Regions from separate parts of the Homo sapiens genome. Here region 1 is linked to region 2. Evidence: promoter capture Hi-C in human tissues and cell types (Jung and others, 2019). All regions are on one chromosome and are shown on one strand. The core of a region is centred on a gene start or on the middle of the fragment in contact, and the rest is flanking DNA. Distances in the headings are between cores, read along the strand shown.

What was found. The method cuts DNA at HindIII sites, captures the fragments that hold promoters and counts their contacts. A contact is called where the count stands out against the background at its distance.
Region 1: the fragment with the promoter of SMYD4 here is called in contact with the fragment with the promoter of BHLHA9 in region 2 in 2 of the 25 tissues and cell types used here (small bowel and spleen).

Annotation. Positions count from the first base shown.
Region 1 is chr17:1,828,137-1,831,740 of GRCh38, forward strand. It overlaps SMYD4 (SET and MYND domain containing 4), which reads right to left and starts at 1,766. Exons shown (of 11, transcript NM_052928.3): 1 at 1,590-1,766. RPA1 (replication protein A1) reads left to right here and starts at 1,869. Exons shown (of 17, transcript NM_002945.5): 1 at 1,869-1,990. The coding sequence starts at 1,958. RefSeq lists a silencer at 1,618-2,137 and an enhancer at 2,765-3,265. The HindIII fragment of the contact is 28,265 bases long and covers 1-3,604 here.
Region 2 is chr17:1,269,182-1,272,909 of GRCh38, forward strand. BHLHA9 (basic helix-loop-helix family member a9) reads left to right here and starts at 1,263. Exons shown (of 1, transcript NM_001164405.2): 1 at 1,263-2,634. The coding sequence starts at 1,383. The coding sequence ends at 2,090. RefSeq lists enhancers at 1-60, 1,665-2,415. The HindIII fragment of the contact is 29,201 bases long and covers 1-3,728 here.

The sequences.
Region 1 (3,604 bases), core at 516-3,015, 560 kb after region 2:
TCAGGAGATGGAGACCATCCTGGCTAACACAGTGAAACCCCGTCTCTACTAAAACTACAAAAAAATTAGCCAGGTGTGGTGGCGCACACTTGTAGTCCCAGCTACTCGGGAGGCTGAGGCAAGAGAACTGCGTGAACTGGGGAGGCGGAGGTTGCAGTGAGCTGAGATCACGCCATTGCACTCCAGCCTGGGTGACAGAGCAAGACTCTGTCTCGGAAAAAAAAAAAAAAGGAAAATCAAGATTTCATTCAAGGAAGCCTGAAACAATAAAATCAATTCTTGTGGTCTTTTCCTCTAGTTTATATGCTAAGGAAGGATCTATATTTTCTCACAGCAATTCACTCAACATCCTTCCATTCAGAAATATTTACTGAAAGACTACTTTGTCACAGGCACCATGCAGGTGATGGTTATACAAAGACGAAGCAGACTAGATAGCTACCATCTGTGCTCTTAGATCCTCTTTTTTTTTTTTTTGTGAGGCAGAGTCTTGCTCTGTCACCCAGGCTGGAGTGCAGTGGCACCATCTCGGCTCACTGCACCCTCCGCCTCCCAGGTTCAAGCAATTCTCCTGCCTCAGCCTCCGAGTAGCTGGGATTACAGATGCGCGCAACTACGCCCGGCTAATTTTTGTATTTTTAGTAGAGACGGGGTTTCACCATGTTGGCCAGGCTGGTCTCGAACTCCTGACCTCAGATGATCCGCCAGCCTTGGCCTCCCAAAGCGCTGGGATTACAGGCGTGAGCCACCGCGCCCGGCCTGATCCCTCTCTAGTTTCTCTGAGACACATCCCAGATTTTTCTTTCTCACCCACCCCAGCAACTATTCATTTAACAAGGTATTTCCCTCTCTTACATAGTTCAGCGTTCTGATTAAGTCCTCACCATCTCGTCTGGCATTCTTCCTAGAGTGTTATAATTAATGTCCATGCCATTGGCACCACTCCCCACTTTCAATCCAGCCTCCAACACTGAGACAGAAGTCAGTGCTCTGCCCTTAAATTCATCAACGCTACTCCAAGCATACCAGGAAGCCCAGGACAAAACCATCCTTACTTGACCCTTGTCTGACTTTCTAATTCTCAGGTGTCACTTACTCCTCTGCATGCACCCTTGCATACTGAACAACTCATTGCTATCCCCGGCTTGCCAGGCTATTTCAACTCTCCAATGTTTTGGCATAGGCTACTCATGCTTTCCGGACCAACCCTACCCTGGCTTATGGAGTCCACCTGGAAAATTCCCACACGTTCTTCGACTCGGCTCAAATGGCACCTCCTCCGGGACGGCGTCCCTGATTTCCCAGCTGTGATTCCAACACCCTTGGGGCCTGTACCACGTCTACCTGGAGGTGGGGTTACTGACGGCATAAAGTGCCCCCACACACTGTCCTCTTCTCTAAGGACGGGGGCCGGGTCTGATTCCCTTTCGGAGACCCCCCACCCCCACCCCCCACCGCCACGGTGCCAAGCTCAGGGCTTGGAGGCGGGAAGTCAGCCCCGCGTTGCTGGACGAATCGGGTCACTACTGCGACTCTATTTAGCAGCGGAGGTCTCAAGGAACAGCTTTAACCTCCTCTGGGATACCAACCCGTGCACTCGCCAGAGACCGAGGCGAGAACGCCTCGAGAACCGCTCAGACGCGCCCGGAACTGCGCCCTGGTCTCCCTCCCAGCGCCCGCGCAGCTCCTGGCGCGCCCCTTGGCGCCCCGCTCCGCCCCGCACCGCGTCCGGCGTCCCGCGCCAGGCCTCGCTTGGGACCATGGGTGGGTCACGTGGGCCGCGCCTCGGCCAATGCGGCGGCTGCGTAGCGCCCGGGCCCGCCCCTGAGCCGCGCGCACGTCGGGGGCGGGAGCGGTGCGCGCAACTTCTCGGGCCAATAACTGCGCAGCGCGCGGGACCCGGGTGGGGAAGCTGGAGCTGTTGCGGGGTCCGCGGGGAAGTCTTGGCGGTGGAGCCATGGTCGGCCAACTGAGCGAGGGGGCCATTGCGGTGAGGAGGTGCCGGGGGCTGGGCCGGCGGTCCGGGGTGGCTGCGGCCCCGAGCCTCGCGGAGTAGAGAGGGGGAGGGGAGCCCGGGGCGACGGGGGATGAACGCGAGGGGAGGAGATGGCGGGGGGCGGTGGGGACCCGCCGGGCGTCCCTCTAGTGTCATCGCCCCCTCCTCAAAGCATTCTTTCGATCGTCTTTAAAACATGCTCACATTTTTCCTACGTAAGAACAAACTAAATAAACGCTTGCCTTTCTCTGCATCTTCCACCTGCGGACACTTTCTGTCTCTTCTCCTTTCCCCACCCACAGCCAAACTTCTTGTCTGGTTTCAGCCACTTCCTTTCCTCGCCTTTCATCAACTCTTTAACCCACTCCAGTCATCCCTTTGATCGCTGTAGAAAACCCTGGCTGAAGGTACCAGTGGCCTCCAAGTTGCTAAATCCAGCCCTTTTCCGTTTTCAGCTTACCTGAGTTCTCAGCAGCGTTTGCGTTTAAGCCCTGCTTGCTTCAGGTCACACCCTCTTCCTTGGTTTTTAGTGGCTCAGCTTGGCAGGTCTATCCCCGTCTTATTTGTAAGTCCCTCTTTGTAAATTTTTGTTGAATCAAGGCTCCCTCTAGGCCCTCTTGACTCCCGAGGCAATTTCTTTTTTTTTCTCCAGCCTGGGCGACACTCACTGTCGCCCAGGCTGGAGTGCAGAGGCGCGATCTCGGCTCACTGCAACCTCCGTCTCCCGGGTGCAAGTGAGTCTCCTGTCTCAGCCTCCCGAGTAGCTGGGACTACATGTGTGCGCCACCACACTCGGCTACTTTTTGTGTTTTTATTAGAGACTGGGTTTCATCATGTTGGCCAGGCTGATCTCGAACACCAGACCTCAAGTTATCCGCCCGCCTCGGCCTCCCAAAATGCTGGAATTACAGGCATGAACCACCGCGCCTGGCCCCAAGGCAATTCCATTGCCATCTATTAATATATGTCAGTTGCTCACAAATTTCTTTGTACAGAGCCACCTTTACTCTAAAAGACAAACTTCCGTCATCTGTCTGCTTATTCCATGCTTCAGAGGGTTTTAAGTTCAGTATACGTATCCCAAAGCAAATTCTTTATCTTTCTAAGTCTGGGCCTCTTGATCCCTATCTCCACGGATGGCACCATTATCTATTCAGTTCAGTGCTAACCAGAAATTGAGAAATCATTCCTCCTATATTGTCCATTACCTGGGCATCCAGTCCCTCACGAAGTGAAGTGTATTTTGCCTCTGCGTAGATCTATCAAGCCCACTGGCTTCTCTCCATCCATACTGGCACCGTCTTTTTTTTTGCCTGAGCTGCTGACTTCCACTCAGCATACGTTCCTGCCACCATTCCCATCCACAGCATACTCTCAGCCTACCTCTCCAGTCACCCCCACATTTTTTTTTAAATTTAGATTTCTGGTATATTCCATACTCCTACCTTCTTCCATGGGGCCTTTGAACTTTTTTTTTTTTTTTTGAGCTGGAATCTTGCTCTGTTGCCCAGGCTGGAGGGCAGTGGCGCGATCTCGGCTCACTGCAAGCTCTGCCTCCTGGGTTCACGCCATTCTCCTGTCTCAGCCTCCCGAATAGCTGGGACTACA
Region 2 (3,728 bases), core at 13-2,512:
GGGGTTATTGGCAATGCTCTTTTGGCGAGATGGATGTGAACCACACACCCATTCCAATGCCATAGGCCTTGGCATCTTAGAGGCATTTGGATTGTGACTGGGAATGAGTGGCCTTCAGGCGCTCCAAATAACTCAGCTGTGGATGCCGGAAATTCTACTGGGGGTCTTTCTTTGGGAATAAACATCATCTTTTTTCTGAGACCCTCTTTCAAATGCAAATCCCTGGGGGAAGAGGACAGAGGCTGCTCATTGAGTTCATAACCTGGCAGGGCTGTGTCACAAGATGGGGCTGCCCGAGGGCTCTGGACCCCAAAGATGCCCCTGATGTGGACCCAGGGCTGCAAAGGGATCTTCCCCGTCACCCTCTGCTGCTGACTCATCCCAGCTCTGCCTGCAGAAGGGGAGTCAAAGGGCAGTGGAGGGAGAGTCAGGCCCAACCAAAACCCGAACCCCAATTGCAGCCAGCCGCCCTCCATAGCTGAAAAAGCCGGAAGCTCTGGGTCAGCTTTACCTGCAGGGCCCTGCGCCTCCCATATGAGTCCTGCCGGGACACTCATGCTTTTCCTCAGTGACATCTCTGTGGTTGCCCACGGGACTTGACAAGAACTTTCAAGGTTTTGTTGTTGTTTTTGTTGTTGTTTTTCTGAGACGGAGTCTCGTTCTGTCTCCCAGGCTAGAGTGCAGTGGTGCGATCTCGGCTCACTGCAACCTCCAGCTCCTGGGCTCAAGCCATTCTCCTGCCTCAGCCTCCCGAGTAACTGGGATTACAGGCGCCTGCCACCACGCCCGGCTAATTTTTGTGTTTTTAGTAGACGGGGTTTTATATACTCTGTTGGCCAGGCTGGTCTCGAACTCCTGAACTCAAGTGATCCGCCCGCCTCGGCCTCCCAAACTGCTGGGATGACAGGCGTGAGCCCCAGTGCCCGGCCCTCTGCCTCTTTTTATTCCTATCAGCTCTCCTGCTAGAAGCCAAACTTAGCACCTTATCTGGGAATGGGGAGGAAGAATGTGGAACCCAGACACCCCACAGCGGCCCCAGAGCTAGGCAGGGCAAGGTCCCCGGGGCAGCGTGGCCGGGCTGCCCGTCTGGTCCCCGCTTACAAGAACCTGCAAGCTTCCCTCCTTGCTTTCCTTCTTCCCCTCGGTTCCTCCCCCGCCGACCTACCTGGAGGCCGATAATAAAGCAGGAGGAGGGAGATGGATGGACGGGAGGGCGGGGCGCCGCGTGGTGCCATAAAGCCCAGCTGGAAGGGGCCTGTCTCGGGAGTGTCCAGCCCCAGGAGCCGGGGACCGTCCGCGTCGCGAGCCGGGCCAAGGCAGTGGGCAGAGGGCAGAGGGCAGAGGGCCGGGGCTGGGGCAGAGGGCGAGTGCCCGGGAAGGCCATGCTGCGGGGCGCGCCAGGACTAGGCCTCACGGCGCGGAAGGGGGCCGAGGACTCTGCGGAGGACTTGGGGGGCCCCTGCCCCGAGCCCGGGGGCGATTCGGGGGTGCTGGGGGCGAACGGCGCTTCCTGCAGCCGGGGCGAGGCGGAGGAGCCGGCGGGCAGGAGGCGCGCGCGGCCGGTGCGGTCCAAGGCGCGGCGCATGGCCGCCAACGTGCGGGAGCGCAAGCGCATCCTAGACTACAACGAGGCCTTCAACGCGCTGCGCCGGGCGCTGCGGCACGACCTGGGCGGCAAGAGGCTCTCCAAGATCGCCACGCTGCGCAGGGCCATCCACCGCATCGCCGCGCTCTCCCTGGTCCTGCGCGCCAGCCCCGCGCCCCGCGGGCCCTGCGGACACCTGGAGTGCCACGGCCCGGCCGCGCGCGGGGACACCGGGGACACAGGCGCCAGCCCCCCGCCGCCTGCAGGGCCCAGCCTCGCGCGCCCAGACGCCGCCCGCCCCTCGGTGCCGTCCGCGCCCCGCTGCGCCTCGTGCCCCCCGCACGCGCCCCTGGCACGGCCCAGTGCGGTGGCCGAGGGGCCGGGCCTAGCACAGGCCTCCGGGGGAAGCTGGCGCCGCTGTCCGGGGGCTTCCTCTGCCGGGCCGCCTCCCTGGCCGCGGGGCTACCTGCGATCCGCCCCCGGGATGGGCCATCCGCGCTCCTGACCGGCCTCGAGGCACCGGCTGGGCTGCAGGGAGGCCGGGCTGGCAGCTGGACTATAAAACCCGGGACTGCAAAGGCGTCTTGGACAGAGCAGAACTGGACCGGCTGAGACCTGGCGTGGAAGAGAAGGAGCTCGCCAGAGAGAAGGAGCTCCGGGACCCGGGGTTGCGCCCCCACATCCCAGCCTGGGGCAGAGAGAAGGAGCTCCGGGGCCTGGGGCTGCGCCCCCACATCCCAGCCTAGGGAGGCAGTTGCCAGAAAGGCTCAGGATCCTGAACTCATCTTGGACTCGAACTCGTCTTGGAATGCCGCCTTCGCACTCCTGCGCCTCCGAGCCCTGTGTGTTCTCGATGCTTTTAGGAGAGTGAGGGCTTTGAGGCAGGAGGTGTGGGAGCGTGGGAATGCGGGTGGGGCCTGCTGTGGTCTCGTGGGCACATGAGTGCGGAGTCCCCTTCCCTGCCTGCGCTGCTGCCCAAGCCTGATCCGGGAGAGGCAGGATCCGGGAGAGGCAGGCAGGGGCAGCAGCCAAATAAAAGGAAAAACTCATTTCTCTCCGATACCACGACTCCAGTGGGCCCCGTGGCCCAGGGTGGCAGGAACGCCTGAGGGCTGGGGGCTCTCCTTGGAATGCTGGGCGGGGCCTAAGGCCCACAGGTAGGCGCCTGGGGGAACTCATTCATGGCAAGACCCCAGGTGTGGCTGAGCACTGTGGGAGCCCAAGGGGAGGAAAGAGACATCCAGAGACCCCTCCTCCCTGAGTCCCCTGGGGTGGAAGAGGATATCAGGAGAGGGGTCACGGGGCCTGGGAGTCTAAGGATGGGGTCAGCCCCGTCTCTGGACCTCCCTGCAGAGCTGCCTGGAAGCAGCCACAGTGAAGGGGGACTCTGGCCAGGTCTCAGGGAAGGAGGCCAAGGGCAGGGCTAGGATTGGGGGCCGGTAAGTCCTGCGTGCATGTACCCCGAGCGACAGGCAGGAAGAGCTCCCAGGGAACCGTGGGCCAGGGCCCCCATAATGAGGGGCCGACTTGGAACCCAGGAAGGATTCTGGGGAGGGGGTTGAGTGAGGGCAGAGGGGCCTCAGGCCAAGCCTGCTGAGCTAGTGAGAGACACAGCCAGCTGCCCCGAGAGTTTTGTCCAGAGAGCTGCCCTGCATCTGAGATGAGCTGGTGTCTGGCCCGGCTCAGGGTAAGGGTCTAATATTGCAAGGGCTGCCTGCTGGGCCAGAGCCCAGAGGTGCTGGGGGAGCGCTGGGCTCTTGCCAACAGGAGAGGGAAGGGTTCCCCACAGCTAGCTCAGAGTGCGGATCCCACAGAAGCTAGAGAAACGCCATTAGGCGTAAACCCAGGGAGAGTTTCCCAGAGCACGTGGGGTGAGGCTCACCTCTACAGTTAAAAGTGCCTCTGCTGTCTGCAAACCCCAGCCCTGGCTGGCACGCTGAGCATCCTGTCCCCAGCCACAGCCCTTAGGGTTCCCAATTGCGCAGGGAGGCTGTGACACAGACCACGGGAAGGCTTTGACTCTATTGAGAGCGGACGTGGGTCTAGCCAGGAGCAGCAACGCAGGAGATGCTGGCCCCAGCCCTGCCCGCCGAGCCCCACAGTGCCACGGGCTGCCAGTGAGAAGGAAAGAGCCAGGCCTGCC